Regions from separate parts of the Homo sapiens genome. Here regions 2 and 3 are each linked to region 1. The links are contacts of gene promoters, found by promoter capture Hi-C in human tissues and cell types (Jung and others, 2019). All regions are on one chromosome and are shown on one strand. The core of a region is centred on a gene start or on the middle of the fragment in contact, and the rest is flanking DNA. Distances in the headings are between cores, read along the strand shown.

Region 1 (3,108 bases), core at 29-2,528:
TCACAGGAGCAGTATCATGCTGGGCTGATTGCGGTCTTTGGAACCAGAAAGACTTGGATTTGAGTCATGACTCTACCCTTTGCTAGCTGCATGGACCTGCATGGTTTATCCAATTTATTGAAGTCTGTACTTTGCTCCTTTTAGGCAGTGGACAAAGCACTTTTTTTGTTGTTGTTTTTTTGAGATAGAGTCTCTTATCGCCTAGGCTAGAGTGCAGTGGCGTGACCTTAGCTCATTGCAACCTCCGCCTCCTGGGTTCAAGCAATTCTCCTGCCTCAGCCTCCCAAGTAGCTGGGATCACAGACAACCACTACCCCACCCAGCTGATTTTTTTTTTTTTTTTTGAGATGGAGTCTCTCTCTGTCACCCAGGCTGGAGTGCAGTGGCGCGATCTCGGCTTACTGCAAGCTCCGCCTGTAGCTGGGACTACAGGCGCCCACCACCACGCCCGGCTAATTTTGTTTTTGTATTTTTAGTAGAGACGGGGTTTCACTGTGTTAGCCAGGATGGTCTCAATCTCCTGACCTCGTGATATGCCCACCTCGGCTTCCCAAAGTGCCGGGATTACAGACGTGAGCCACCGTGCCAGGCCCAAAGCACTTTTTTATAGCCCCTAGTTTGCTGTTGTGTCTGTTTCCTCTACGGCCCGCACAGCCTGGGTTTGAATTCTGGCTCTCCATGGCCTTGGGCAAGTTGGTTAACTTTTTGTGTCTCAATTTCCCCACTTGTAAAGTGGGGCTGGGGAAAAACCCTACCTCATAGGGAACATTAAGTGAGTTCATGAAAGCCCTCGGTGTGTGGCATGCGATAACCACTACCTAAGCATAAGGTATGTTTACATGCACTGGTTGTTTACCACGACGCACCAGCATTCATTCAAGTTATTTTCTTCCAGAGTCTGCCTGGAATGTAGAACCGGCCAGCTCTCCTCCTCAAACAGTTCCTGCAACCTCTGGTTATCTGTGTGGGCAGAGGCGGGAGTGTGGGTGTGTGGCCCTGCCCTGGGACAGGGATGACGAGAGAGCATGTGCTTGTGTCCAGAGCTGTCCCCTTCCCTGCTCAGGGGCCACCAAATATGTCCATGGTCTCTGCTGCCTGGTCAACGGCCACCCCGGGCTGCCGTCTCCTGGCCAGACCTGGAGCTCACAAGCTAATTTTAGAAATGACTGGTCGACTCAGCTGCTGCTATCACATTGGCCCAGAAGGAGGGTGGGGGGAGGACGGGTCGGGGAGGGGCAGTAAGGGGAAGGGATGTGTGTCGGTGTGTGTGGAGAGGGTGCTCCTTCGCTCCTGCTTTCCCGGCTCGGTGGGGTCCCTTCGCGGCCACCCGGGGAGACGTCTTAGACAGTCGTGGTTCCTGTGATCTGTGTCCTCTTTGCAGAAGGTACTATTGGGCTGGGTTTTAGACGGGCACCTTGCGAGCGGATCGGCGAGTTTTAATTTTCCGGAATGCGCTGCTGGGGGCTGCGGTGGCAGGCCTCCGGTCTTTTGGTCTATTTTAGGCCTTTCTGGTGTTGAGAGCTTCCGAGGCCTGATTCCTTTGCCTGTTGCCCGTGCTGCTCACTTTGAAAACAAGAGTGTTTCGGTGGAAGGATTTGAGAACAAAATGCTGGGGCAAATGGACATTCGTAAGAATCACTCTCCTCAGGCCCCAGCTGTTCGCTAATAATTTTTAAAAATGTGTTTAGAATCATGAGTTAATCTCCACTGTGAATCTTTGCCCGCAGACGTCAGGGTTTATATTTTTCCTCAACTACCAGTAATTTCTGCTTCACTGGTGTTCAGTTATGGTCGGGGAAGAGCCAGGCTTCCCCTTTCGTGTTAACAACGCTGTTGAGTCGAAATGTTAATTTTAATGTTCTTTTTTAAACTGCAAATTAAGCATGTATGAGTGTTGGGGGAAGGGCAATGGAAGTTCATGGCTGAAGGTTTCAATTTCATGCCACCTTCCTTGAGCTCTGTCTGAGGGAAGGTGTCTTATCTGGCACCCCGGATAGCAGGCATTTCTCTGAATGAAGAAGATTCACAGGTCCCAGTGGCCCCATAGTGGGGCAGAAGGGGGCTATGCTTTGACATGGAGCTCTCTCCCAGGAGAGGAGAAGACCTCACCAGCTACAGGCCTCTGGGCTGCTGCCTTCCTGCAGCTTTTCCATGGAGGAGGCCAGGAGTGGGGAGGCCCGGAATGGGGAGCCCAGTCGGCTCCCAGTCGGCTCCAAGCTGTCCAGTCTGGCCTCAACCCGCAAGTGTGGGGATCTGGGCTTCTATCCTGTAGGGCCTGGAATACGACGAGGCTGTTACTTTCACTTTGTGGCTGTCCAAAAAGATGCTGCCTCATTCAGTGCACCAGCTCATGGAGGCTGAGTGTCCCACTAGGGCTTCTAGACTCCAACAAGGATAATGGTGGCCTTGGGTGCTGTATCCATTGCTGACCTAAGTTGTATTCTCCTATGCCTGGGTACCATGTCCAGTGTGTACCTTGGGAGCAGAAAAGAGAGGGGTCTATATACTCTTAGGCTATGGATGAGTTCTAGAAAATAATAGTGGAGAGGAGAGAGAGAAAAGAAGGAAGAGGAGGAGGAGAAGGAGAAGAAGAGAAGGAGGAGGAGGAAAAAAGCAGGAGGAGAAAGAGAAGAAGGAGGAGAAGAATAATAGCAAAGGAAAAGGCCAAAAGAAAAGGCCAAGTGGGTGGAGGAGGGAGGAGAAGGAGGAAGAGGAGGAGGAGAGGGAGTCTCCTGGTCTCCTGGCTTTTGAAGGGCTGCATGTTACCAATCAACAAATATTTGATGTCACCTGCCTCCAGGCCTGGTCACCTTGAATATCCTGGTGTGGGCTCTGTAACCTTGGATGAGTACTCTCCCCAGTCGGAACTTAGTTTCTCCTTCTAAAACCTGAGGGGGTTGGGCTAGACCACCTCTGGGATCTTTCCTAGGATTCAGCATCCAGGAAGGTTTTTCTTGAAGTGACGGTCGTTGACGACCTACCCATCAGACTCATGTGGGGCAGGAGGCGGGGGGCTGTTTTAAAATGCAGATTCCTGGGTTCATCCTAGACCTTTTGAACAGTCTTGGGGGAAGGGGCCCAGAAATCCACAGATTTTAAACCTCACAG
Region 2 (2,796 bases), core at 45-2,544, 320 kb before region 1:
TGAGTTTTAAATAATGTATCAAGGCTTCAGCGATGGATTTTTTTTTCTCTAGCTCCTTTCCTAATTAACACCATCATGAGTTGTACAGCTAATGAGGTTCCTTAATGCTAAATAGCTCTTTGAATTGATGCTCAAAAGAGGCATTTTCTTTATGGTGAATTTGAAACCATGCAATTCTATAAAATGTTGGAATTTAAACCAAAGTTATTGTCCATTTGAAATCATCAGTCCTTCAAGTGTTAGGCGCCCAAAATTGCTTAAATGTTACCTAATGCTAAGTGATCATAATGTGATTTTTTTACAAGTCCATCTATGAGCCCTATGATACAGAAAATACCAGTCCCCTTGTTATTTCTTGTGAAAAAGCTAAATTGTGCAAATGAAGACATGCTTGCTAGATATTTTGGGCTTGCTTCTCCCTCCTTAGCCCATGCCTCTTGTTGGTTTTGCAGGATGTGCTACTCTTTGATAGACAATGCCAAGTAGTGAAAATAAGGAAAAAGTGCAAACCCTTCTGCAATGTCGTGAGTTTAACACCCCTATGCCAGAGTGTAGCATATCAGAAGCTAATTGAAAAAATCAATGCTGCTTAAAATTTCTGGCAAATGGGAAACTTACTTAGAGAACAAGAACTCCTATATCAAACCTAAATTTCACCAAAAAAACTGAATATTTCTATAAAGGTGGTAGAAAATTCCTTTTTCTCTTGCCTTTCCTAGTGTCCCTCCGCCACCCAAGGTCAGGGAGTCCTGAATATGTAGGGTTTCTAGATATAAAATTGATAAATCTCAACTCATGGGCAGTTTTTTTGGGGGGGGGTAGTATATAATATTACTAAAGTTAGGAACTTCTGTTCAGTTTTTATTTTTTTTCTTGGGGTTTCCTTTTTTAGTGTCCCTCTTAAGAACATACTTATGTGCTTAGGATGTTCACTTCCTTGTATGAATGCCTTTGTTTTTCAGTGGTATTCTTTGTTAATGCTTTAAGGCAGAGTAAGTGACAGCCAGCATATTTCTCGTGACATTTGAAAACTGAGAAATACCAACCAGAGAGTAATTTTAGGAAACAGCCCTTCAGTAATTGTTATTCTGTTGCTCTTTTTAAAATAGACTCTCCAATTGGGCCATTGGAACCTCCTCCTGAGATTCCAATTTGTTTCCTTTTTTCTTTTCTTTTTTTTTTTTTTTTTTTTGAGATGGAGTCTAGCTCTGTCGCCCAGGCTGGAGTGCAGTGGCACAATCTTGGCTGACTGCAACCTCTGCCTCCCAGGTTCATGTGATTCTCCTGCCTCAGCCTCCTGAGTAGCTGGGACCACAGGCGCCTGCCACCACACTTGGCTAATTTTTTTCGCATTTTTAGTAGAGATGGGCTTTCACCATGGTGGTCAGGCTGGTCTCGAACTCCTGACCTCATGATCCGCCCACCTTGGCCTCCCAAAGTGAAGGGATTACAGGCCTTAGCCACCGCACCCCGGCCTGTTTTCTACTTATCTTAGTGGCTTTGGCTTTAGTTTTATAATGTAGCCATTTACATAGTAACAGTCACTCCTTGTGCTGTGTTAGGATTCTGTTACATTGAGATTATCAGGTAAAACATCTTGCAAAATTCTCTCTACCACGGGATGGCAGTCAGTAGCCTACCTGTTTGATTTGGAGGTTGGGGGTTGGGGAATTTCTAGATCCTGTAAGAAAGTTAATTGCGTGTTAAAAGTCTCAGCCTAATGACTTAAATGGCTGGTATGACTTCACGCTGTTGGTAAAAGGGATTCGGGTCAAGTGTTTTTTGACAAGAGTTTCTATATCAGCTTCATTATAGAGGAAGCCATGTGACCGCCAGTTTTTGGTATTCTTGAAAGAGATGTTCAGATTTGTATTTTTAGTATCTGAATGAGAAGCATACATTTTAATTTGCCTTTGGTCTATCACTAGTGATTTTTTTATTTCCAGCTAATTATTTGAAGTCACTATTCTTGGTGCTTCCTTATTTTAGTTACTTTGCCTTTTCCACAATTTTAAAACAGAAGAGCATCAGAACGAAATATCTAGCTAATTTAAATGAAACAATGGGTCTGCAGTTTCCTGCCTATTACAGGAGAGTCTCAGAAAATGGAACATTCTGTCTAGGGGAGATTTTGCTTCCCTGAGATGGCAAGAGGCACACATTTTGTTATGTTGACACATTATTCAATTAACCAATGAGTGCAAATCCTGGAAAAGCTGACTATTTGTCCAAATGGTATAGCTGCTTTAGTTTACTGAAATGTTGTTGAGCTAATGTAGCTGATAATGGGGCCTACTGGGAGTAGTAAACTGTGACCCACAGACTCCCTTGCAGGCCCAGTTAAAACAGGAGCATTTAGATGTGCAGGCCAGTTGTTTTACATCATGTTGGAAAAGAAATACTTTTTTTTTTTTTTTGAGATGGAGTCTTGCTCTGTCACCCCGGCTGGAGTGCAGTGGCGTGACCTGGGCTCACTGCAAGCTCTGCCTCCCAGGTTGATGCCATTCTCCTGCCTCAGCCTCTCGAGTAGCTGGGACTACAGGCACCGCCACCATGCCTGGCTAATTTTTTTTTGTATTTTGTTTTTTTTTTTAGTAGAGACGGGGTTTCACTGTGTTAGCCAGGATGGTCTCCATCTCCTGACCTCATGATCCACCCACCTCGGCCTCCCAAAGTGCTGGGATTACAGGCATGAGCCACCGCGCCTGGCCAAGAAATACTTTTATTTAAGTAAGGTCTAATTCACAAGCAAAGTCCCACAAAGGGTCAACATCTTAAGCCCTCAAGTGATTCAGA
Region 3 (2,803 bases), core at 95-2,594, 320 kb after region 1:
AAGACTCTTCCAGCCAAACAAGTCTATGTCATCTTGCTTGTTACTTTACCTCTTCAAAGGCAATGGCTACTGGGATGATGGATCTTGGAAGCATTAGCAAATGGAGTCAAAAGAACTAAAGGAAGAGGACCCAAATGTGGAGTGAATGAGACGGAGATTGTGTGAGTTATTAAGTATAGAACAGCCCAACTCCAGGGTGGGAAAAGAGGAATTATGCAAATGCCAGGATAAGCATTTCCACTTTGGAATTCTAAGAAATGAGAGTTTTCTAGAGAAGTTGTTCATCAAGGGAGAAATTCTATGTCAGGAATGTGTCAAAATTTAGAACCAAGCCCCTTTCATAGGCAAGGGAAGCTCAGGTGCCCATTGAGGATGCCCTGAGTTTGGGAAAGAGGACGGTGTCTTCCTGGGCTAAGCAGCTGTCTGCACCACTTTGGATCAATTTCCACTTGAACATGTTGCCACTGCCTCCCAAACTCCATCTTCTAACCCCAAGAATGCATTGTATAGAATTAGTCTCACAATTCCACAGACAGAATTAGCCTCTGCAATGAGAGATCAGCCCTTGACTTGTGGTTAATTACGTACAATTCAAAATCAACCCCCTGTTGTTCACATTTCCCTTGTGCCTGGAGCTCTTGGAAGAAGAAATTGCATGCTGTCCTGGGAAAGGCTGGAGAAGGTGTATGGCACTAGGTTGCAACGTGTTGGCATGTCCTAAAGACACATGTGAGAATAATGTGGTCGATTATTGTGACAGCTGAGGACAGACTTTGCTAGTCAGAATTCTGGGGAAACAACTTTAAGCATAAAAATGTTTCTTTTAAATGATTATTTTATTAGCCTTGTGATCAGTGCAGTACAGGATTCTGTTCCTGTTGAAAGAAGTAAAGCATTCGTACATCCCCAGCGTCCTTTAGTGAGCTCTCTAGGGCAGGGACCAGGGAACTATGGCCTGTGGGCCACATTCTACTCACTCCTTGTTTTTATATAGTTTCATCAGAACATATAATTTGTTTACATATGGTCTATGGCTGCTTTGAACTACAACAGAAGATTTGAGTAGCTGCAGCAGAGACCAAATACCCTGAATGGCTCACAGAGCCTAAAGTATGTACTACCTGGCTCTTTATAGGAAAAAGTTCACCAACCCCTGATTTAAGGAAATATCAGAGAAACCACCTAACCTTGTGTTTTGAAGCTGGATTCTGCTGGTCCATGACCTCCTGACCTTTTCCCTGCTCTGTTCTGCAATGCAGGAAGTTGCAAAGGAGCTGTCTCCCACAGGTGTGTTTGAGGCTCCTGGGTCAACTGGCTTCTGTCTGGATTCAGCAATGGCAGATACTGACAGTAGACTAAAGAGGGAGAAGATTAAACACACACATACACACGTATACACACACAGATATGTATACACACATACACATATACACAAATATACATATACACACATCCACACATTTATACATACGCACACATGCACACTACACACATATGTACATACATACACACATGCACACATACATATACACATGCACACATATATACATATACACATATACATACAAACATGCATACATTTATACATATACACATATGCACATATATGCACATAAACACATGCATACATATATACATATACACAATATACACATATACATATATACACAAACACACAGTTTTACATATACACATATACACACATATACACAAACATACATATACACACATACATTCACACATACACATGCACACACCACATATGCACACATGAACACACATATACACACATACCACATATGCACACACATACACACACACACACACACACAATTCAGTCAGCATCTCCAGTGGCAACTGTGAACCTTCTGTAGCCCCAGCTACTGTTGGCTTGGCCCCCTGTAGTGCCAGCTTCTGCTGAGGAGCCCCAGACCCTGGACTCCAGTAACACTGTCCTTTGACCCTCCAGCCAGGAGGTGGTAGGAGCTTCCTGCTGTACTGTTCTCTGTGATATCCCATGGTTGTTAGTAAATTCCTCAGCCCTTCCATCCCCTGTATAACCAGTTTCTTTTATCAAATTCCTGATTTTAAATCCATAGATTTGTTTCTGTTTTGTTGGTTGGATCCTGACAGGTCCAGGTCCTGACCCTGAATCCTGGCCATAGCACCAAAGTCCTGTTAGGGTCTGCTTTCTGTTTTCCACCTTGATGGGGCTGTTGGAGTTTTGCTTTGAATACTGGGTGGCTGTGTTCTTCCAAATTGTTGGAGCAGACAGCTTCATTAGCTAAGGAGTCCTTGCTACAATCATGGGCTTCTCTAGCCTCACCAGATGAATATCCATCTCCATCCTCAAATATCTCTCTGCTGCTCACAGTGAGATGGGACCCCAGGGAGGTGGCACTATCATAGCTCTCAGTTCCTGTGTCCCTATTGCCGAGAAACGTCATCTACCACCAAGAAAGGTCATCTACCACCGAGAAAGGTCATCTACCACCGAGAAAGGTCATTCTTCTGATGCTCTTTGCTTGTTTCCACAGTGCTCACACTCCCAACACACCTCTGCCCAACTCCAGCCTAGAATAATAACTCCAACCTCACTCCTACCACAGATTGTTTGGCTTTGATGCTGTCAACATTTGAATCTTGGCCCTTCCTAGCCCATCATTTTTCCATGATTTAAAAATTGATGCTGAAAAACAAAAAAAATCAGTGGTCAGAACATTTAAGAAAATACTGGATTAAACAAATTAAAAGAGGTCTCTTCAATACAGGACTTCTCAGAGCCTTTAAAATAAGAGGCAAT

What was found. The method cuts DNA at HindIII sites, captures the fragments that hold promoters and counts their contacts. A contact is called where the count stands out against the background at its distance.
Region 2: a contact is called between a fragment that was not itself captured here and the fragment with the promoter of MYO18B in region 1, in 2 of the 25 tissues and cell types used here (H1 embryonic stem cells and dorsolateral prefrontal cortex).
Region 3: a contact is called between a fragment that was not itself captured here and the fragment with the promoter of MYO18B in region 1, in 1 of the 25 tissues and cell types used here (dorsolateral prefrontal cortex).

Annotation. Positions count from the first base shown.
Region 1 is chr22:25,740,910-25,744,017 of GRCh38, forward strand. It overlaps MYO18B (myosin XVIIIB), which reads left to right and starts at 1,279. Exons shown (of 44, transcript NM_032608.7): 1 at 1,279-1,384. The HindIII fragment of the contact is 19,978 bases long and covers 1-3,108 here.
Region 2 is chr22:25,422,265-25,425,060 of GRCh38, forward strand. LOC124905095 (a long non-coding RNA gene) reads right to left here. Exons shown (of 2, transcript XR_007068037.1): 1 at 1-2,796. Among named protein-coding and RNA genes, the nearest start is that of MIR6817, 32 kb to the right of the region's middle. The HindIII fragment of the contact is 5,143 bases long and covers 1-2,796 here.
Region 3 is chr22:26,059,196-26,061,998 of GRCh38, forward strand. It overlaps a transcript of MYO18B not described here. Among named protein-coding and RNA genes, the nearest start is that of LINC02559, 92 kb to the right of the region's middle. The HindIII fragment of the contact is 7,714 bases long and covers 1-2,803 here.